Regions from separate parts of the Homo sapiens genome. Here all the other regions are linked to region 4. The links are contacts of gene promoters, found by promoter capture Hi-C in blood cells and fetal thymus (Javierre and others, 2016). All regions are on one chromosome and are shown on one strand. The core of a region is centred on a gene start or on the middle of the fragment in contact, and the rest is flanking DNA. Distances in the headings are between cores, read along the strand shown. Region 1 overlaps CCN6 (cellular communication network factor 6). Region 2 has its middle 3.0 kb from the start of CCN6. Region 3 has its middle 61 kb from the start of CCN6. Region 4 holds the start of SLC60A2-DT (SLC60A2 divergent transcript). Region 5 overlaps FAM229B (family with sequence similarity 229 member B). Region 6 has its middle 62 kb from the start of LINC02527. Region 7 overlaps LAMA4 (laminin subunit alpha 4).

Region 1 (3,180 bases), core at 319-2,818, 810 kb before region 4:
TAATTTGTACACTTAACATGTATTTGTATTAAACTTTTTAAATAATTGCTTTCTTATCAAACCAATTGATTTTATAATAAATGTCTATATTTTTCAACAGTGCTACTTGTTATTGTTCTGCATGACATTTATGCAAATGAACAGAATGTTACTAAGCTTGATATCTTCCAAACTTTGCAATAAATGGCTATAATTGTTCCGGTTACTATAATCTTCAGTTCTAGCCTTAACATTAATTTATTTTTAATAACATTTTATATTTCAGATCCACAGGTTAATTTTAAGTTGTATTCTTTATATTTCTTTCCTTTGCAAAGTAATGATACTGTTCTTGGTCTTTGTCTTGGAAATTTAACTTTTTACAATATTTGATGTAAAAAATTTTAGATTGCAGTTGTTAACAGTGGCCAGAAAAGTTGCATTTTCTCCTTTCCAAAAGAAACTGATATTCAAGATCAGGCAGTGAAAAGTCTAAATATATTTACAGCTTAATCTTATTTCTGTTCAAGAATTAATCTAGAATTTCACTTGCCCTATAATGATGTATCAACTAATGGGCACCTTAGGCTACATTGTCAAATATAGATTAAATTTTTTAAATTGAGTATGTTTTTTTCTCCCCCAAAGGAGTCTCGCTTCTCCGTGCCAGTGCAGTGGTGCAATCTTGACCCACTGCAACCTCCACCACCTGGGTTCAAGCAATTCTTCTGACTCAGCCTCCCGAGTAGCTGGGATTACAGGCGCATGCCACCACACTTGGCTAATTTTTGTATTTTTTTAATTACAGACAGGGTTTCACCATGTTGGCCAGGCTGGTCTCAAACTCCTGACCTCAAATGATCTGCCCACCTTGGCCTCCCGAAGTGCTGGGATTACAGACATGAACCACTGCGCCCAGCCTAAAATTTAGTATACTTTTTATACAGCTTTAGCAAGTATTCCAGATTATTTTGTAAAATATTTTCTTGTAAATTGCATAATTTTTTCATATACAAAATGCTTAGATGGTAACAAATGTCTGTGTATTATATAATTATAGGATATATTTTAGAAATTAGTTCAATTTTTAAGTTGTTCAAATTTTATGTATATTTTTAAGATAACTTTTTAAAAGTTTCTAATGCCTTAAATGTAGTGATCTGAGAATAGGCATTCATACTGTTTTAAACAAAGTAGATTTGCCACCATTTTATACTCACTAATTTTTTTATTATATGACAGGATTGACTAACTTTTCCCCCATTTGCTTGGTTTTACAGAATCTTGAGCTCAGAAAATATATCTCCAGGTTCTCTGCAGTTTCTCTGACACACACAAGATGTAATCCACAGCATCTTCCATTTAAATGACCCCTCATTTGGGCAATCAAATTGAATAGTAATCATTTTAGACTTATTAGGGATACAGCATCTCTTATCCAAGCATATTCCACAAAAAGTGGGTTTGTAACTCTGAGTACTTGAGCATCCAGAAAAGACAAATTTTTCAGCTTTGGAGAGTTGGAAAGTAGGTTGGCATGTTTTTCCTTTGGGAATCTGAAAAGATAGATAAAATGAAGTCATTCTTTAAATTTTATTACAATAGTTTTGAAAACATGTAGAATAGTTTATAGTACAAATCTGAGTATTTGGAGGCATTAATAAAAGTTGCTATGTAGTGATTTCCAGCACTCTCTTTACCCTTAAGATCCCCTTCTTATCAGAGGTCTGTCCTCTCTATTCTTCATCATATTATAGCACGTACTCCTCAATGTTTTTTGCTATCTATTCTTGACTCAATTTTACAATAAATAGAAATTTCTGTTTTGTTTAATATCAAGAGCCATGTCTTATTAAATATTTATCTAAGACTTAGCAAATTCCATAACACAGCCCAGACAGTTTTCAGTGGATGCATAGATGAATAATTATCCTAATCTTTCTTTAAAACTGAATTGTCAACTTGCTAATATGATAGAGAATAACTTTGGGGTAGAAGGATTGTGTAGCATTTCTAAAAATTACCCTTTTTGAGACAGACTTACTGCCTCATTCAAGAAGCAGGACCAGCTCTAGTTATACCAAACAATCTTAGGGTAAATATTTTATCATAGTGTTTTAGCAAGTTTACTATGTAAGCATAGAGCATTTTGGAAATGGTGTGGCTTCCTTCCAAGTTAGTGATATATAACTAAGATCAGGACTTCTCTACTCTGATGTTCATAATATCTGTTTTCATAATTATAGTGTAGCAACCAAAATCTTTTATTCATTAACATAGAAAAAAGAAGTTAGAATCTGCTCTGGTTGGTAAAATTTTCCCCACAACATGCAGTTAATACCTGTTTTCCTCTGAAATAGTTTGACTTTAAGCATTATAATGAGATGCTTTTATTTTTCTAAGAACTAAACACCATCCCACCCTCCAAAACACACACATGCTTACTTTTCAGGAATCTCTTAATATTGAATTAAGTTAAATATATTTAAACTTTACCTTTATTGTCTTTAATATATTGCTGTCGCAAGGCTGAATGTAACACAGTCTTTTCTCTTTTCTCATTTCACAGTTGCTGTTTTCATTGGTCACCCTGTTAGATATTCCCATCCCACATGTTCTGGAGCAGGGAGTCCATTTTGTTGCTTGCACAAGACATTTTTTTTTCCAAATAAGTGGGAGATTTCTATAAGCTAAAACAAAGGGAGAAAAGTACATATGTATACATATAAATGTACTTGTATAAATAGATAATTTTTAATCATGTTTAATGTTTAAGAAATCTGAGTATTTTTGTATAATATAACTCAGAATAAAAGAAGCCGATGGTCTAATTTATCACTCTATCTCCCTCTTTCCCAACCCCAAAATTAACTTTCAATCAAGTATTACAGTCCAGTCTCTTAGGAGGAATAAAAATACTTTATCTTTGAAAAACTGAGAAGATTTACTCATTTGCATTTTTCTGCTTTGCCTGTCCTCTGAATACTAAACCTAAGCTTATGTTCCTGTTGAGTTGTCTTTTCCCTTGTTCTTGCCTCATCATTTCTAACAGACATTGAAATAAAAATTAGGGAATTTGATCAGAACAGTGTGATCTTAATGTTAACTTTCATAATATGTTAAAATCTAAAATACAAAAATTATATTTGAGAATGAGACTATCAGTGAGACCAGATTTCTTCCATTTGTTTTAATCTAGTC
Region 2 (3,023 bases), core at 385-2,884, 790 kb before region 4:
CATGTGCACAATGTGCAGGTTAGTTACATATGTATACATGTGCCATGTTGGTGTGCTGCACCCATTAACTCGTCCTTTAGCATTAGGCATATCTCCTAATGCTATCCCTCCCCCCTCCCCCCACCCCACAACAGGCCCCGGTGTGTGATGTTCCCCTTCCTGTGTCCCAGTGTTCTCACTGTAGAGAAGTCCTTAAATGACCTGATGGAGCTGAAAACCATGGCACGAGAACTACGTGATGAATGCACAAGCTTCAGTAGCCGATTCGATCAACTGGAAGAAAGGGTATCAGTGATGGAAGATCAAATGAATGAAATGAAGCGAGAAGAGAAGTTTAGAGAAAAAAGAATAAAAAGAAACGAACAAAGCCTCCAAGAAATATGAGACTATGTGAAAAGACCAAATCTACCTCTGATTGGTGTACCTGAAAGTGACGGGGAGAATGGAACCAAGATGGAAAACACTCTTCAGAATATTATCCAGGAGAACTTCCCCAACCAAGCAAGGCAGGCCAACATTCAAATTCAGGAAATACAGAGAACGCCACAAAGATACTCCTCGAGAAGAGCAACTCCAAGACACATAATTGTCAGATTCGCCAAAGTTGAAATGAAGGAAAATATGTTAAGGGCAGCCAGAGAGAAAGGTCGGGTTACCCACAAAGGGAAGCCCATCAGACTAACAGCGGATCTCTCGGCAGAAACTCTATAAGCCAGAAGAGAGTGGTGGCCAATATTCAATGCTCTTAAAGAAAAGAATTTTCAACCCAGAATTTCATATCCAGCCAAACTAAGCTTCATAAGTGAGGGAGAAATAAAATCCTTTACAAACAAGCAAATGCTGAGAGATTTTGTCACCACCAGGCCTGCCCTACAAGAGCTCCTGAAGGAAGCACTAAACGTGGAGAGGAACAACTGGTACCAGCCACTGCAAAAACATGCCAAATTGTAAAGACCATCAATGCTAGGAAGAAACTGCATCAACTAACAAGCAAAATAACCAGCTAACATCATAATGTGGATCAAATTCACACATAACAATATTAACCTTCACACTTAACAATATTAACCTTAAATGTAAATGGACTAAATGCTTCAATTAAAAGACACAGACTGGCAAATTGGATAAAGAGTCAAGACCCATCAGTGTCCAATCTGATCTTTGTCTTTTTATCTTCCTGGTTATCACCATTGGTCTGTGGGTACCAGCCTGTGATTCCCACACCACACCGGCTGTCAGGATGGATAATTTCATGTTTCTGGTTTGTCTATGAAAAGCAGAGGAGTCGCATCCCAACACTGGGGTATTCATCAACTGTATCTCTCCAGCTCCAGCTCTCCCCCGGTTCCACATATAGTAATGCACATATCAGTGCAATTTTTGAATTTAAGGAGTTTCACCCTCCTCCCGTTTGCTGTCTGTGAAATGCTGGCGGCAGCAGGCATTTTTCTGGAATCGTCTTCCATCCCTCTGCAGTCTCACTGACGTGGAGCAGGGGAAGATAGATGTTGACCATCCTTGCCTCTTGGTAGGAAAGGAACATCTTGCTTGAAAAGTGACCTGCAAAACCTCCCCCAGCTCCAGAACACACTGGCGCTGGGTTACTCACTCCCACATGTGTTTAGACATCTTTGGCTGTGGGAGCTCCTATTTAACTCTTTCCAGCCGACTGTGTGTGGACTCCATGGATATGGTAGTTTTAGAGGTCGGGGCTGCTATTTTTGACCTTACACAATAAGAGCTTTCACAGTGTGTGTCCTGTTCTGAGCATGTTTCCCTATTATCTCATTTAACAGAATGCTAATCTGTCTAGGAGCTCATTTCACAAGTGTTCAGTTTGTGATGTACGTTCCAATAGACATGGCGCTAAGCATAATTCAATGTGCACCATGTTCTATGATTTACAAAGAAGTTTCCTGTGTATTACATTTTTAATTTCACAGCTCAGTGAGGTGGGCAAAAGCAGTATTACCAACCTCATTTAACAGATTAAAAAGTGAAAGCTAAGCGATTATACTTGGTCAATAAAACACACTTAATCTCTGCCCTCTACAGCTAAATAATCTACTGGGAGAGAAGACGCTGAACAAATAAACACACAAAATGTCCGTCATTGAAAGTTGAATAAAGGCTAATAAGAGCAAAGAAGAAATTATAAGAGAGAATGACAGGTGAGAGCTAATTTAGATTGGGGGCAGAGAGGACATCTGAGGAAGTGATACTTAGTCAAGAGATGAAGCTAGATGAAGAGTCGGGAGACAACTGCCAGTCCAGGACTCCTTCCACTGGCAAGATGCACACCTCTAATGGTGGTGAGCTCCCCCGCACAGAGCACACCCCACTCCTTTCCCGTAAGATTCCTAAAATCGTTCTGTTAGGAGCGTCATCACAGCTAGAATAGTCCCTTCTCCTGGGAGTACCAGCCGTCCGGGCAGGCAGTGTTTGGAGCTCATGCCTGTGGTCAGCAAGCTTAGTACAGTATGAGTCTTCCTTTCCTCATCCCCTCTTTCCTTATCTTCCTATCTTACTGATTGTGGAGAAGGGTGTATTGACATCCTTGAGAAAAGAGAAGATATTGTTTGTGGAAGTAATGTATTGAATGTGTGCTATGAGGGGGGTCAATATTTGCTCCAGTGAAATAGAGATATAGTAACAATAACACAGCTTGGGCAACATAGTGAGACCCCATCTTTACAAAATAGAAAGTAAAAAAATTAGCCAGGTGTGGTGGTGCATACCTGTAGTCCTAGCTACTTGGGAAACTGAGACAGGAAGATTGCTTGAGCCCAGGATGTTGAGGCAACAGTGAGCTATGATCATACCACTGCACTCCAGCCTGGGAAACAGAGAGAAATCCTGTCTCAAAAAAAAAAGTATAATAATAATAAGAGCTAACATTGGCCGAGTGTCACTGTGTCTCAATATTGTACTGAGTGCTGTATATGTATTAACTCCTCTGATCCTTCAGCAACACTGGGCCTGTGTTCTGTGATTACCATCTTTGGTTTACTTATTAGGAAACT
Region 3 (3,055 bases), core at 346-2,845, 730 kb before region 4:
ACCAGAGCCTTTATATTACAGGAAAGGAAAGAGATAAAAAGATAACTCCTATGCCCAGTATCAAGAGGGACCCTTAACACCACCTCTCCAATGTCCAATACTCTTTTCACCACACTTAGATCTTTCTCTCCTCTAACTTCTGCTTAAGACTGAAACCTCGTGTTAATGTCCTCATGGGATATGACTTGAACATCTTCAAAACCACCTTGACAACCTGTATTGGCATCACAAGCTTGTATCAATGGGCTTGCAAAAAGTTGTGATTTCTGAGGATCAGAGTGGTAGCTGGTGTGAGCAAGAGGCAGTGAGTGTTGCCTCCAAAGTGTCCTTTGGGAGAAAACAAGCCCCAGTCTCTCCTCAGTGTTCAGCCTCTCTAACTTTGCAGTCAGTGTGACAGGTTCTTAATGACCTGCTCCCACCTTCCCCTGTTACCTCCTACATACGCGGGAGAAACCAATTAGAGTAGTGACTTGGGACTACGAGACCATCTGTCTCAGAGAGACCACTCTTAGGACCCCCACAAAGCACCCCAGTGTGCAGACAGCCTCACTCACTTCAGACGATGCTCTTAACTGAACAGAACCCTGCTTATCTTTGTGCAACTCCAATTATTCTTGCCTGCCAGCAGGTGTAATAATGCTAACTGCCTCTCAGCCCCCACGTGGCAGGTGCCACAGAAATAAGTGGATAAATGGACAGAAAATGAACCGAAGCTACACAGTCTGCCAAAGGCTTTCACAGCCCCTTGGAAACAGAACACCTGGCTTCACTGTCTTGTGAATCAATATGGCCTTTTCTTATAGTACCTAAAGCTGAAATTCATCTCCAATTCCTTAAACTGTCCTTCTCCAGGAGCAGAATTCATTTACCATCTGCTTTACAAGAATCTGGACACTCTATGTTTCTATCTTATTATAGATTCAGCTAATATGATTTCTCCCATCCACTATCCCTAAACAACACAACATGTGCTTTGTCTTTGACTAAGCCCCACAGCCTTCTCTCCATACAGGGTGCTTTCTGATGATTCACATCAAATTTCCTGTTTGGTTTCCTTTATGGGTGCATGGCTCCTAATGTTTTTACCCATCTTCTCATGGCGCATCCGGCCCAGGAAGCTTTACTGCGCTTGTTAGTTTAGCAGCTGTGCTTCTCCACTGAGGCTACCCCAGGTGGGAGGCAGCTGGAGAAGGACAGGATAAGAAATTGGAGATGAACTTCATTGTTGTTGTTGTTATTGTTGCTCATGCTGTTGTTTTAGAGACAAGGTCTCACTCTCTCGCCTAGGCTGGAGTGCAGTGGTGTGACCATAGCTCACTCCAGCCTCAAACTCCTGGCCTCAAGGGATCTTCCTACCTCAGTCTGCTGAGAAGCTGGGACTACAGGTGCACACCAACACACCCAGCCAATTTCGTTTTAACTTTTTGTAGAGACAGAGTCTCACTATATTGCCCATGCTGGTCTCAAACTCCTGGCTTCAAATGATCCTCCTGCCTTCCAAAGTGCTAGGATCACAGGCATGAGCCACCACACCCAGCCAACAATGTTTGGATTATTTTTTTCTTCCCTATACTTTCCCCATTTTTTTTCTCAGACTAATAATAGTGAGTTTCTATGACTTCCAGAGTCCTAGATACATCTTCTGTGATCGCATATCCAATGAGCACAAGAAAAATGAACAAGCTCCATCACCAATGCCTCCCCTGGACAATGGGATAAGGCCAAAGAAACCACAGCACAAAGGGTGGCCCCCAAGTCTTCCATTTTAAAAAAAGAAGTTAGAGGTTTTGTGTTTGCTCAAAGCAACTAGAAAGAATGATGGACCCCACACACAGAGATAGCTGTGCTATAGACAAGTGTTTTTCTTTTTTTTTTTTATTTCACTTTAAAAATTTATTTTCATACCAAAAAAATCATTCAAAGACAGTATTAAAAAGGATGTTTTTCAAACCGTGCTCCCCAGAAATGCCTTGGGAGAGAGAAAAGTAGAAAACAAGACAGAAGCAGGCTCTGGGGCTTCCTCCCATGATTCAAGCAGAGCAACCTGAGCTTAGCCGTTGTACACAAGCTTTTTTGGAAAAAGGGCTTCTGTGGCCCCAGACATACAAAACCACTAGTGTACTGTAAAGGTCGCTGTCCTGGGAGGCAGGGTCCCGGTCCCATCTTACCTCTATAGCCTTTGGCAAGACACTAAGCTTCTCAGGGTCTCCCTGCCACGTCTGAAAGGGTGAGGTGTGGACTAAGAGATGGCCAGGATTCTCCAGCTTTATGATCTTCTCTTCAACGTTATTTGTAGCCTTCAGATGACTGTGTCAGTTCCAAGTTGGAAAGACTCGGGACTGAATTCTAGTTCAGCCACTCTTCAGCTCTGTTACCTAGGGTCGGGGGAGGTCCCTGTAGTCTGAATGACCTTGTATGACAGATGCATCTGAATGTGTGCTCCCAGCTATGGAATCCAGGAGTGGCCAATCCAGAGATTTATTCCTTGTCTATGAGTAACATCTGAGCTCCCAGCCCATCCCGTGGGACACGGGCCATACAGAGGATTGAGGCCCGGAGCCTTAATGGACATTGCGAGGTGGAGGTCATTAAGGGGAGGGTGTTAGTGAAAATGCTGTATAAACTGCATGATGTTTGCAAGCAGCTTTGGTTCTCCTACCCATCCTGCTGCCACCAGACCATACAGATATCTTGTCCAGCCCACTGTCATTGACTCTCTCCCCTGCATGTGATCCCCTAATAAAACCCCAAGTCTCGTTTTCTGGCTCTGGGTCTCTTCTTCAGCCTCTTGAACCTAATGCCTTCCCTACAGAGGTTAATAGGCATTCGTCAAAACAGCCTCCTCCTCCCTGAAGTTCAGTTCACCCTCACCTGTAATCACTAATACTATCAATGACCTTGAAAGATTGTTGTGAGGATTAAAAATAACATATAAAACTTTTCTTGGCCCAAATTAGTTATTCAATAAAGGGTAACTATGACCTACCATGATTTTTATGCATGCAGCCTTTAACTCAACCAACCCAGTGCTAGGACTTTAACTTATGGGTATATG
Region 4 (2,972 bases), core at 262-2,761:
CTAAGAAACAACTGTGGCTCAGAGTCCCTGAGATGGTAAGTGACCACACATGACTCTTGGGAGGACTCATCCTCTCAACTCCCCCAGGATCATAATTATCAAGTGATAAGGAGGAGGTTTCCGAAAAGTGAATTGAGTGGCGACCCAGGGGTTTGGCAAAAGGCGCCTCTAGGCTTGCCCTTTGCTCCAAGAAAAACATTTAAGAATCTAAAGGTTGGTTTTATTAATAAATAGGATGGTGGGCAGAGTAAAAGACATATTTCTGGCTCTATCACTTAACCAGCTGTGTGATCCAGAAAGTCACTTTCCCCTCCGGGCCTATTTCCTTATCTGCAAAATTAAGCGGTTGGCTGAATTTGGTCAGATCACCAGGAAGAAATTCCAGAAAAGTAGTTTTTCTGTGTAATAATTTGGGGGTTGAGTGGGTGGGTGCGGAGAGCAGCGGCCAAAGACCTGGTGAACCCCTCTTGCAACCTTCCCATCCGACGAAGGAGACGTAGGAAGGCTTGCCGGGCCGGGCGCCGTGGCTCACGCCGGTAATCCCAATACTTTGGGAGGCCGAGGTGGGCGGATCACCTGAGGTCAGGAGTTTGAAACCAGCCTGGCCAACATGGCGAAGCCCCGTCTCTACTAAAAATACAAAAATTAGCCGGGCTTAGTGGCAGGCGCCTGTAATCCCAGCTACTCGGGAGGCTGACGCAGGAGAATCGCTTGAACCCTGGGGGCAGAGGTTGCAGTGAGCCGAGATCGCACCACTGCACTCCAGCCTGGGCAACAGAGCGAGACTCCGTCAAAAAAAAAAAAAAAAAAAGCTTGCTGGAGCTGAAAGACGTATTCAGAAAATCTATTTCCTCCAAGATTAGAATTGTGCCCATTTTCTAGATGATGAAACTGAGGCCCAGTCAGATTAGGTAACGCGCCCAAGGTCAGTTTGCAAGTGGCGAAGGCAAGACTCGAACGCCCCGGCCTGGGAGTGTTGCAGCCCCGGCTCTCACCAGCCCCAGGAAGGAGGCACACAGCATCAAGGTGGTGAACCACCGCAGCTTGCTCCCGGTCCCACCGCTCTGCCAGGAGACCACCACCACCTCCGGCTCCGGCTCATTCTCCGCCGGGGCCTCCGCCTGCAGGAGCCGCTGCCCCGCAGCCGGGGGCCCGGCCCCACGGAGCTCCACCTCTAACTCCAGCTCGGCGGCTCCGGAGAAGTCGTCTTGCTGCCGCCGCGCTTCTCAGCAGAACTTCTGGAGCTCCGAGAAGAGCACTGGCCCCGACCCCAGGCACGGGTGTCCCTCCGGGCGCCACCTCCCAGCGGACCGCCCGGAACCGGGGCAGAGAAGAGGAACTTCGGCACGCCGCAGGTGTTCGTGGCAAAAGACGCTCGCTCTCCAGCAAGCAGGCGCATGCGCGGGTCACGTGGCGGAAATGTGGCCTCTCGCCAACCGCTATCGTGCCTCAAGCCGGAAGTTGATATGGTTGCCTAGGAGACCGGACGTAGCTCTCTAGCCTAGGCATCATACTTAGCTGAGCTCACAGAGGCTGGCGGACGTGCGCCCCATGGCGGAGCGAGCTGAAGTTGCAGCCTGGGACCAGGGAAATCAAGAGGTAAAAATGCGGCCAAACCATTATGAGGAAAAGGGGCCAAGAATTACACTGTAGCGCCTCGCGCCGGCTCCCCGGTCTCCTGGGGAGCGAAGGGAGCCTGAAGAGCTGGTCCTTATACAGCTTTCTGAAATCCCTGAGATCTGTCAATGAATCGCGCATCTTTCACTCCACAAGTATTTGTTGAACGTCATTGTGTAAGTTATCACGTATATTATCTCAACCCTCACAACACTCCAAATTCCACGTTATCCCCGTTGTACAGATAGAAAGATTAAGTCATAGAAAATAATTAACAATCTGCCCAAGCTCAGTCATCGAATTAGTGGCCGTATATAAACAGTGTAACAGTAGCTCAAGAAAGAAATCGGGATCCAAAGCTGTGGTTTCAAACACAATTCCTGAAATAATTCCAATTCCTGAAATAATTCCATCGTTGTAAAGAAGTGGAGCGTGGCATCGATTTGAGGAATTTTTTTTATATACTTTAAGTTTTAGGGTACATGTGCACAACGTGCAGGTTAGTTACATATGTATACATGTGCCATGTTGGTGTGCTGCACCCATTAACTCGTCATTTAACATTAGGTATATCTCCTAATGCTATCCCTCCCCCCTGATTTGAGGAATTGTTTTCCTTTTGCTCTTTAACAAAGCGTACCACAGCCTCAAAATGTTATATACTTTTCTTTGTGGTCTATTTGAAATGTTCTTTTCCACCTGATTCTTCCAACTTTCATCCACTTAGGCTCCCAGACTACAAACCTTAGTCTCATCATCCCTTGCAACCCGTCTCTCCAGACTTATTCGTTTAGTCATTAAGTCTTCCCCCCACCCGCACCCCCACTTTTTTTTTTGTTTGTTTGTTTTCTTTTTTGAGACAGAGCCTATGTCGCCCGGGCTGGAGTGTTGTGGCGCTTTTTGGTAGAGACGAGTTTTCACCATGTCGGCCAGGCTGGTCTCGAACTCCTGACCTCAAGTGATTCGCCTGCCTTTGGCCTTCCAAAGTGCTGAGATTACAGGTATGAGCCACCATGCCCCGCCAAGCATTTCTTTTTTATTTATTTATTTATTTATTTATTTATTTATTTATTTATTTATTTGAGACGGAATCTCGCTCTGTCGCCCAGGCTGGAGTGCAATGGTGCGATCTCGGCTCACTGCAACCTCTGCCTCCTAGGTTCAAGCGATTCTCCTGCGTCAGCCTCCTGAGTAGCCGGGATTACAGGCGCGTGCCACCACGCACGGCTAATTTTTTTATTTAGTAGAGACGGGGTTTCACCATGTTGGTCAGGCTGGTCTCGAACTCCTGACCTCATGATCCGACCGCCTCGGCCTCCCAAAGTGCTGGGATTACAGGCGTGGGCCACCGCGCC
Region 5 (3,383 bases), core at 97-2,596, 830 kb before region 4:
TTTTAACTGGGTATAGAATTCTCAATTAGCAGTTTTGTTTTCTTTAGGTACTTTAAAGATTTGGGTCCACTATGTTCCAGCTTGCATTGTTCCCAACAAGAAGTCTGTTGATTTTTTTATCTTTGTTCCTCTATATGTAATATGTCTTTTTTATCTGGCTGGCTTTAATATTTGCTTTTTATCACTGATATTAAGCAATTTGATTACAATGTACTTGGCATAGTTTCTTTCTGTTTCTTGTGCCTAAGGTTCACCGAGCTTCTTGGATCTGTGGGTGCATAATACTTATCACATTTGAAATTTTTTTAGGCATTGTTTCTTCAAGTATTTTTTGTTCCCTCCTCTGGCATGCCAGTTACATGTATATTACACTGTTGAAAGTTGTCCCACAGTGCACTAGTTCTCCTTTTTAAAAAAATCTTTTTGTTCTCTGTTTTATTTTGCACAGTTTCCATTGCTACATCTTTAAGTTTGCTAATCTTTTCTTTTGCCTAATGTCTAATCTGCTCTTTATTCCATCCATTTTTCACCTTAGATATTGTACTTTTCATCTCTAGAAGTCTAATTGGGATCTCTTTTTCATATTTCTTTGTCCCTTCTCAGTCTGCCTGGGCTTCCTTCTGTCCTCTTGAACATATACTGCTTTAATGTTCTTTTAATTTTATGTAATTATTATGTTTACTAATTCTTTCATTTGTGCCATTTCTTGTTCTGTTTTTAACTAATTTTTCACCTCATTATGGGACTCATCTTTGCATATCTGGCAATTTTTGACTTGGGTGCCAGGCATTGTGATTTTACATTGCTAAACAATTTTATTTTTATTCCTCTAAGTATTTTTAAGTTTTGTTCTGGGACACAGCTATTTGGAAACAGCCTGGTTCTTTGGAGGCTTGGTTTCATGCTCTCTTAAGCTAGATTACAACAGCCTTTCATCCAGGGCTAACTTTTCTTCACTACTGAGGTACCTTTCTGAGTACTCAACTCAATGTTCCAGCTATTTTAAGGTTTCTCCACTCAAGATACGGGGAATGTGAATTAGTCCTAGCCCTATGTGAACCCTAGGAATTGTTCTGCCCGCTTATTTCCAGTGGTTCTTTCCTCAGTCTTACATAGTTTCCATGAATCCATGCAAGGATCAGCACTCAGTTTAGGCTCATGAGGAACTCCTTAAAGATTTTCAGAGCTTTGTTTTTGCATACTCTCTAACAAATAAAGAAACAGATAAAGAAAATGTGGTATATATACACAATGGAATACTATTCAGCCTTAAAAAAGAAGAAAATGCCGTCATTTGTGACAACATGGATAAACCTGGAGGACATTATGCTAAGTGATATTAGCCAGCCACAGAAAGAGAAACACTCCACTTAGATGTGGAATCTAAAAAAGTCAAGCTCATAAAAGTAGAGAGTAGAATGGTGGTTACCAGAGGGTAGCAAAGCTGGAGGGTGGGACAGGGATAGAGATCAGAAAGATGTCCAACGGATACAATAAGTTTCAGTTAGGAGGAATAAGTTTTATAGATCTATTACATAGCATGGTGACTAGTTATTAATAATATATATTTCAGAACTGCTAAAAGAGCAGATTTTAAATGTTCTCATCACAAAAAAATTCTGAGTATGTGAAATGATGGATATGTTAATCAGATTGATTTAATCATTCCACAATGTAAATATTTATCAAAAAATCAACTGTACCCCATTAATATACACAATAATTAATCAATTTAAAATCAAACAAATCAAAAATGGACCAAATAATGGCAGATCATCAGCCTGAGTGCCAGAAGGGGGATAACATAAAGCATAGCCCCCAGACACCCCTCAATGGACATGTATCATGTACAAAAAAAAAATTGTTGTTTTACACCACTGAGATTTTGGGGTTGATTGTTACCACAGCACAACAAAGTTTATGCTGATGTATACAGACTTTGGTCCAGACTTAGGTACCGCTATAACAAAAATCTAAAATATAAGTCACCATACCTAAGTGGTCAAGCAGCAATTAACAAGGAAACTGTTGTGGAAAGCTAAAAGGATAGTGATCTATGTCACCCAGGAACAAACCTATTGGGAAAAATCTTTGGAAAACTCTGTGATAACCTAGAAGGCATGTGATTTAACTAATGAATTTAAATGTTGGGAGAAGAGGCTGGAAAACAATAACATGTCAGTTGCTACTGTTTGTCAAGTTATATGAGAAAGAGATGAGCTCAGAAATGGCGGTGTGCAAGCAAGAATAAAAACAGACCACCCACAACTCTGAATTATATTTTAATGACAACTTACAAAAGCTACAGAATAATTTTCTTCTAAAACATTTTATTCCCCTTCAGAACTTTGCAGCATGTTTTCAATGCCTTCCAGTACTGAATGTGCTATATAGATGAGTCTAAAGTACTCTAATTAATTGTTTTTTCTTCATCCCACTCCCCCGTTCATTTCATGCCTAGGTACCTAAAAAATTCTCTCTTTATTCTGAAAAGTTGAATGCCTTAATGAGGCTGCATGTCTTGGTGTTGATTTTTCTATAAATTGTCCTATAGAACATAGTGTGTATCCTTTTAATCTATGTATTTTTCTTCCTTTTTTTTTATCAAGTACATTTTTTCCTCCATTTGCTGTGGGCACATGTTAATCTTATGTTGAGCCATCTTTGTCTCCTTCATACATATTATTTTTAATAACTTTCATATCTCTGGGTTTTGCCTAGTATTGTTATTATTTTAAGACTTTCCTCTACATTATAATTTGATGTGCATCTCTCTAGTCTGCTTCTTAAATGCTTTTAAAAATTATTTCTTTAAGTCCTTTAAGGTGGATGTTGTTGTCTTCAGTTAATTTCCTTAGTTCTTTTATCTCCATTTTATTTCATTTATTCATCAAATATTTATTTACTATCTACTATATGCAAGGTACTATCCCTAGTAGTGGATAAAACAACAAGACTCAGCCCTCATAGAGCTTGAGTCTTATTATTTTAGTATCTTGTCTTTAAGTTCCTGTTTTATTGCATTCATATTCTTAAGTTCTTCTTCAGCACAAAGTAGATATGATGAATTTTCTTTTCTCCCCTCTTAGGCTAGGTTTTACCCCAAGGTCTTGTACTTTATCCATCTTTTACATCGTTCCTTCCTTCCTCTCCCCCTTCCCTCCCTCTCTCCCTTCCATCCTTGTCTTCCTTCCTTCAATTTTAGGAGTCCATAGGATTCCCAATAATTTTTTTCTTTTTCATTTTCAGCATGTGGAATTCTGTTCACTCTATTTGCTCTGTATGTTGGTCAGCTATCACTACAATAAAACTGCACCCCAAAATTTCAGTAATTTCAACCAAAAACATTTCTCTTGCTTATAATATTCTGAATAGCCCGCTGC
Region 6 (3,096 bases), core at 103-2,602, 710 kb before region 4:
CCCAGGCGTGATGAGTGAAGATGTGGAAAGGATTTCAAGTGTCTCCATAAGTGACATGGTGGTCTTTCTGGATTTGGAATCAGAGTGAAGCTCCATGAATGTGCAGAATTATGGGCTTTCCAGAGGCAGCCATTGGTTCCTGTGATTATCATCCCAACATTCCTCAGAGTCCCACAGAAAGTCACAAGAAACAGTTGTTGCTGGAGCTGAAGAAAACAACATTTAACATTTCAAAAATGCCAATCCTTTCAGTGCTCCTGTTTACTAATTATTGTCCATATGACTTCACAGGTGAGGAGATGGAGACCCAAAAAATGCCCTAGGCATTCCTATCTCAGTCTTTGTTCAGACTGAACTTCCAGAGCCCAGACTCTTCGCTTATGGCTAAATCAGGCCGTCCTTCAGAGAAGGCTGAGTTGCTTGTAAACCATCATGTAAGTGTGGTTCCTTGAACCACAGCCCACTAAACTCTCAGTTCCACTCTGATGGCCTCAGCAAAACATGCTTCCAAATAAAAACATCACATTGGTGATTTTATAAGGCTTAGGTCAAGTTCTTTTGACCACATGGACCCTGCCACGCGGAAATGAAAATTGTCAATAGCTGTTAGAAAATAACATCCCACAAGACGAAGCAAAGTATTCTGGAGCTCACACAACCACTAGTCACTGCCTGACTCTAGACCACAGACTCATGGAGATTCTGAGGCAGACACTGGGGATTTGATTGATTTTACTTTGGTGATGGCTTGGGACATATGATTTTCCTTCCTGAAAATCTGCTTTCTGGCAGTAAAAACCAAACCTAGGGGAATGAGTCATTTTTCCTCACCCAACTTTGGGTTCTGCTTCTCAACCAACTGGGAAATTTTGGAAACTCCAGTTTTTATGAGTGTGCAAGTGTGCACATGAGTATGCACACACATGTGTGGATGGGAAAGAGAGTGAGAGGGAGAGAGATTGATTGTGGGAAGGAGTAGGGAATGAAGAAAAATATATTTATCCTAGAGCCAATTTCTACCTGATAATTCATATTTTTAGCCTGTGGCCTTGAAGATGACTGTCATTTTATTGGCACAAATGACTTGCTGTGCAGTTTGCTGAGTAAGTGTTTTTTGTTGTTGTTGTCATTTTTTTTCTTTTTTTCTTTTTTTTAGTAGGAAAAAAATCTCAGCCATATGGGGAAAATGCTTTGGCAGATGGAGCACATCTATTCCAGACCCCAGGTCCTTCACGGCCAAGAATCTTACTCTCCTTTGTGTTAGGCCCATTCATTGATGGGGAAACAAACGCCAAGAGTTTCCCAATATCGGTGCTGAGGATTTCTGAAATGAAGAGAAATCTGGACCATTGCAGAGAACTCAATTGAAACAAAACATCTAATGTGCTTGGCCTCGAGGTTAAGAGGGCTCTTTACTCAGATAAACAGTAACAAGGCTGAGCCCTGTACAAAGTGGCACGTCGTCTCCCTTGATCTGAGTGTGCTCTGAGCTCCAGCAATACAGGAATTAAGAGAGGTTGTTTGTAATTAAACTGCTCAGACGATGAACCTCACTCTTTAAATCTGAAGAGAGACTGAAACAATAGTACTAGATTCATAGGTAACCAAGTATTTTTATTTTGTCCCAAGAGCAGAACATGAGTTTATTTGGGAAGGCTTTTAATGGAATATTTTCAAGGGGGTGAGAAACCTACCTGTTCTCTTCAGCATCCAAGTCTCAATTTTCACAAACACTCAATTAACATGCACATATATGCAAATTCTGCTGCATATTTTGGATCACGTAGATAGCCACTTTTAGGAGACAAAGAAATAGATGACTCCTCTCCAGAGCTGATAATCTACCAGAGGTAGAGTTGATACATGTGAATGGAAAACTAAAAATACAAGGGTAACCACTGTGAGGTTAACTCATCAGGGTAGAAGCAAATAAAATGTTTTTTTGATGTGTTTATTTATACAACAAATATAAATTCAGCACCTACCATGTGTCAGGCACTGTTCAAGGTTCTGGGAATAAACAGAGACCATAATAGACCGAAAAAAAAAAATCCCTGTCTTTGGATTATTAGATCCTAATGAAAAGAGTCTAACATAGGAACAGAAAACCAAATACCACATGTTGTAAGTGGAAGCTAAATATAAGAACTTACAACACAAAGAAGGAAATAACAGACACTGGAGTCTGCATGAAGGAGAGAAGCAAAAAAGAGAACTATTGGGTACTAGGCTTAATAGCTGGGTGATGAAATAGTAAGTACAACAAACCCCTGTGACGTGTGTTTACCTATGTAACAAACCTTCACATGTACCCCCAAGCCTAAAATAAAAGTTAAAAGAAACAAAAATTGTGTAAAGTAAATTTATCTTAAAAAAAGGAGTCAGGCAGTAAAATGTAAAAAATACATTGAGATGAATTATATCAGGAACCAATTATTATTTTAGAGAGACAGTTAACAGCTGCCTGACCATCACTGGATGGTCGCCTGACACTCCTGGTGTGTGTGTGTGTGTGTGTGTGCGTGTGTGTGTGTGTGCGTGTATCGGGGGCCGCCCTTTCCGGCCCTACTCGTATCTGACTAGCTACCTATTATAATATTTTCACATACCAAAAAATGGATTCAAAACCTCATCTCAGTCTGAATGTATGAATTTTCTCTTTGTCCAACAACTATCTAAATTTGATACTACTTTTGCATGAATGTGTGCATGCCTCCTTCTCTTCAAACACACTACACCCATCAAATGAGAAATAAAAAACTAAATACAATTCTTTACATTCATATTATGCTTTTATTATTATTCATGTCTTGAATATGTATTTAACAAGTATCTATTAGGTGCCTACTCTGAACCAGGCACCTTCCTAGGCCATGGAGATGCCATGGTGAGAAAGACAAACCCTGTCTTCATGGAGCATACAGTCTTATCCTGTGTTAAAAAACTGACCTAACAGATAAATGGTCCTCATATCCATTGATTACAAATAGAATGACTAGGATGAACTATTGAAAAAAGACTAAATTATCAGACTTACTATTCTCAATCACAACCAAAGAGTCTATTGAGACATCCAAACCAATTAATGACAATACA
Region 7 (3,088 bases), core at 423-2,922, 900 kb before region 4:
CATCCCAGAGTGCTGGGATTACAGGCGTGAGCCACCACACCAGGCCTTGAATCTTGATTTCTGACCACTTTCCTTGTCTCTACTGCTGCTCTTTGGTCCAAGTCACCTCATCTACAGTTTAAATTGCCACCAGAGCCTCCTAGCTGATCCAACTGTCTCCACTCTTGTCCTTCAAGACATATTCTTTATGCAGTAGCAGAACAATCCTTTAAAAACATAACCAACATTATTTCTACTATAGACACTCCCCAGTGGCACTTAAAGTAAGAAACAAGCTCATTTTGTCATGGCCCATGAGACCCTACATGACCCAGCTCAGACCCACTTTTCTGACCACATACCCAACTCTTTTCTCACTCACTGCACTCCAGCCCAACAAACTCCTCTCTATTTTTCAAATATACCATACTTATTTCCTGCCTCAGGATTTCTGCACCTGCTGCCCTCAGATCTTCAAATGGCTGGTGTCCTTATGACCCTGACATCCAAATGAACCCCTTACCCCACTCACTCCTCATCCCACCCCACCTGTCATATGTTATTCAAAATATCTTTTACTCCCTGAAATTAGCTTGTTTGCTTGTTTGATCACTTGTTTATTACCTGTATCTCTCCCACTAAACTGTAAATTCCTTGAAAGTGGAGACTGTGTTCAAAGGTATTCTACCCCCAGAAGAGTTCCTGGTCCATAATGAGCACACAGGGAATATTTGTTGATGGAATGAATGAGTAAAAGTGGTATGTCCATGGTCTATTTTCCACTTATACAATTAAAAACATTTTTTTCAAAGTATTGTTCCCCAGATGACCAACCAAAATGGCTAGAGGTTTAATACTGCCTCCATAAAAGTAAACCCTTTGTACTACAAACCCTTTGTGCTACATTCTGGGATTACAAAAATAAGTTAAACTCAGTTCCTGCCTCCTAGGATTGTATGATGTGATGAGTTAAATAATCACTTAAAATTATTACAATCATTTGACACATGAATGAATAATAAAAACACATGGCAACACTTAACTCATCCTGAGGAGGTTAGGGATGGCCTCAAAAAGGAAGTGATATTTGAGCTGAATTTGAAAGGAGGAGTAGAGCTTTCCAGGTAGATTAGACAGAAAATAAAGGAAAATTATTCCAGAAAGGGAAAATATTTGCAGAGGTAAGAGACCAGAAAAAATTGTGGAGCATTAAAACAACAACCAGTTGGTCAAGATTAGACCATGGGATATAGCAGGTTGGGGGTCATGAGAATTGATGAAATTGGTGAGAGAAGAGCGGTCAGCTGATGATGTCATGCTTAGAAATTGGACTCATTCCTGCAAAGCAACTGGCTGATTCTGAGAAGGGAAATAACATGGTCAGATTTTCTTAATAGGAAGATTACCTTTCCTGCAAGACAGTGGAGAATGGATTAGAATACTCAAAGACTGCCCTCAGAGAAAGAAGTGAGATCACTCAGGGGAGAGGAAAGGGCTGGGAGTCAAATGCCAAGTTTCACGGTCTCTTTCTTGGTCAGGGAAAGAGGAGACCCAGGAGATAGCATAGTCACAGAAGCTAGGAAAAGAAAAGAGTTTTAAGCAAAGACAGTGGCCAACACTGTAGCAAACCACAGATGGGTCCAGTAAATAAGGATGGGAAAATGTCAAGTGGATCTGGAGATTTGGGGCCAGGTGTTGGTGATCTTGGCAAGAAACATTTCTGTAAAGTGCACTGTGTCAAAGCAAGAGAAAAAGCTAGAAGGGAGCCTAAAGTGAAAGAATAAGGTTTTTTGTTTGTTTGTTTGTTTGTTTTGTTTTTTGACGGGAGATACTTGAGCATGTTTATATCTGAGAAGAGTCAGTAGCTAGAAAGCAAGAATGAATAACGGGGTTACCAAGACAATGGGGCAGCATGCTTTATACAGAAAATGAACATTTTCCTCTTAAAATTGGAGAGAAATTTTTGTGTAGGTGTAGCTATAAATACATCTATAGAGTTTGCGGGGAAGGGCTGGGGGCTGGTTGCAAAAAGCTGGGGAAATACCTGTTCATTGGTTTTGGAGTCTCTGAGGGAGTTAACCAATAAATAGTGACCCTTTCCAGAACCCAAGTTCTAAACAGGTGGAAACATAAATAAAATAGTAAATACAGAGACCAAGGAGGTTGCCTTATTTCTGAAGCAGCTAAGCAGCAGGCATGGCTTTAGGTCTCTTAGCCAAGTGGGGTAGCTGACATTCAGTCCCAGTATTAAGCAGCTGTGCCCACCCAGACAGGCAACACCGTAAGGCTTAGATGGGGGTTCTGCCCAGAATAGTTTTAACATGGAGGAACACAGGAAAACTCAGGCTTTCTGCTGGCAGCTTGCTCCCAGGACAAAGAAGGGTGGAGTTGAGCAGAGCCTATAGAGTTATTCTTCCCAAATTTACCCACAAAATCAACCACTCCCCTCTCACAGGAGTAGAGTGAGGAAAGGGGTAGAGAGGTCTGGAGTTTCACTCACTGTGCTCCCTGCATATAAAGGAGACATCAGAAGTGTGGAAGAAGTGTCCCCCACTAACAGTTTATGACCTCCAAATAAAAAAGAAAATAAAGTGATCTGTTTACAATCAGATGGGGGTGGGTGAAGGAAATGTTGGCTTAGGAATCATGACAATGTTTAGAATCACTATTTGGGTGACTAGGAGAACAAATCTCTTTGCAGCATTGAGGGGCCAGCCAAGGCTGAAACTCACGGGTTTGCAGGAACATCCGTCTACACAGTTGCACGATCTTTAAGCAAAATCGTAGGTCTGTGGTTGTATTAAAAACCAAGAGAGCCTGTGTTACAAGGTGATTTTTAGGAAGTAGTCAGTCACCTGAAAGGTAACTGAAAGGTCAGATGAAAACTGAATGATGTCCATTAGATTTAGTAACTTAGATGTAATTAACTTCTCTTTTGGTAGAGTAATGGAGTAGAAATCAGACAGGACTAGGTCAAAATAGGAAATATAAAGTGAGAGAAAATAGAGACAACATATATAAACAACTTCCATTTTTTGAAATATGTTGCTATGAAGAGAGCAGAAAAGTATTGTAGTAACATTAGGGACATGTGTGGATAATTGAAGGT

What was found. Contacts are between HindIII fragments. The CHiCAGO score rates a contact against its expected background, and 5 or more counts as called.
Region 1: a contact is called between a fragment that was not itself captured here and the fragment with the promoter of SLC60A2-DT in region 4, in 5 of 17 cell types (total CD4 T cells, activated CD4 T cells, naive CD8 T cells and 2 more). The highest score is 9.3, in total CD4 T cells.
Region 2: a fragment that was not itself captured here is called in contact with the fragment with the promoter of SLC60A2-DT in region 4 in 1 of 17 cell types (total CD8 T cells); the score reaches 5.1 in total CD8 T cells.
Region 3: a fragment that was not itself captured here is called in contact with the fragment with the promoter of SLC60A2-DT in region 4 in 1 of 17 cell types (neutrophils); the score reaches 6.1 in neutrophils.
Region 5: a contact is called between a fragment that was not itself captured here and the fragment with the promoter of SLC60A2-DT in region 4, in 5 of 17 cell types (non-activated CD4 T cells, fetal thymus, total CD8 T cells and 2 more). The highest score is 7.1, in non-activated CD4 T cells.
Region 6: a contact is called between a fragment that was not itself captured here and the fragment with the promoter of SLC60A2-DT in region 4, in 1 of 17 cell types (neutrophils). The highest score is 5.5, in neutrophils.
Region 7: a fragment that was not itself captured here is called in contact with the fragment with the promoter of SLC60A2-DT in region 4 in 2 of 17 cell types (total CD4 T cells and activated CD4 T cells); the score reaches 6.8 in total CD4 T cells.

The regions. Positions count from the first base shown.
Region 1 is chr6:112,067,694-112,070,873 of GRCh38, reverse strand. It overlaps CCN6 (cellular communication network factor 6), which reads right to left. Exons shown (of 5, transcript NM_198239.2): 4 at 2,476-2,669; 5 at 1,188-1,535. The coding sequence ends at 1,254. TUBE1 (tubulin epsilon 1) reads left to right here. Exons shown (of 12, transcript NM_016262.5): 12 at 1-211. Among named protein-coding and RNA genes, the nearest start is that of CCN6, 15 kb to the right of the region's middle. The HindIII fragment of the contact is 2,819 bases long and covers 159-2,977 here.
Region 2 is chr6:112,049,605-112,052,627 of GRCh38, reverse strand. No RefSeq gene overlaps it. Among named protein-coding and RNA genes, the nearest start is that of CCN6, 3.0 kb to the left of the region's middle. The HindIII fragment of the contact is 1,675 bases long and covers 797-2,471 here.
Region 3 is chr6:111,991,092-111,994,146 of GRCh38, reverse strand. No RefSeq gene overlaps it. Among named protein-coding and RNA genes, the nearest start is that of CCN6, 61 kb to the left of the region's middle. RefSeq lists an enhancer at 1,010-1,159. The HindIII fragment of the contact is 950 bases long and covers 1,121-2,070 here.
Region 4 is chr6:111,257,751-111,260,722 of GRCh38, reverse strand. It overlaps SLC60A2-DT (SLC60A2 divergent transcript), which reads left to right and starts at 1,511. Exons shown (of 3, transcript XR_001743807.2): 1 at 1,511-1,599. It overlaps SLC60A2 (solute carrier family 60 member 2), which reads right to left and starts at 1,384. Exons shown (of 4, transcript NM_153369.4): 1 at 996-1,384. The coding sequence starts at 1,022. RefSeq lists enhancers at 1,275-1,354, 1,675-1,734. The HindIII fragment of the contact is 14,878 bases long and covers 815-2,972 here.
Region 5 is chr6:112,089,083-112,092,465 of GRCh38, reverse strand. All of the region lies in intron 1 of FAM229B (family with sequence similarity 229 member B), which reads right to left. Among named protein-coding and RNA genes, the nearest start is that of FAM229B, 3.2 kb to the right of the region's middle. The HindIII fragment of the contact is 6,017 bases long and covers 1-3,383 here.
Region 6 is chr6:111,969,726-111,972,821 of GRCh38, reverse strand. No RefSeq gene overlaps it. Among named protein-coding and RNA genes, the nearest start is that of LINC02527, 62 kb to the right of the region's middle. The HindIII fragment of the contact is 4,920 bases long and covers 1-3,096 here.
Region 7 is chr6:112,159,147-112,162,234 of GRCh38, reverse strand. All of the region lies in intron 13 of LAMA4 (laminin subunit alpha 4), which reads left to right. Among named protein-coding and RNA genes, the nearest start is that of FAM229B, 73 kb to the right of the region's middle. The HindIII fragment of the contact is 6,360 bases long and covers 1-3,088 here.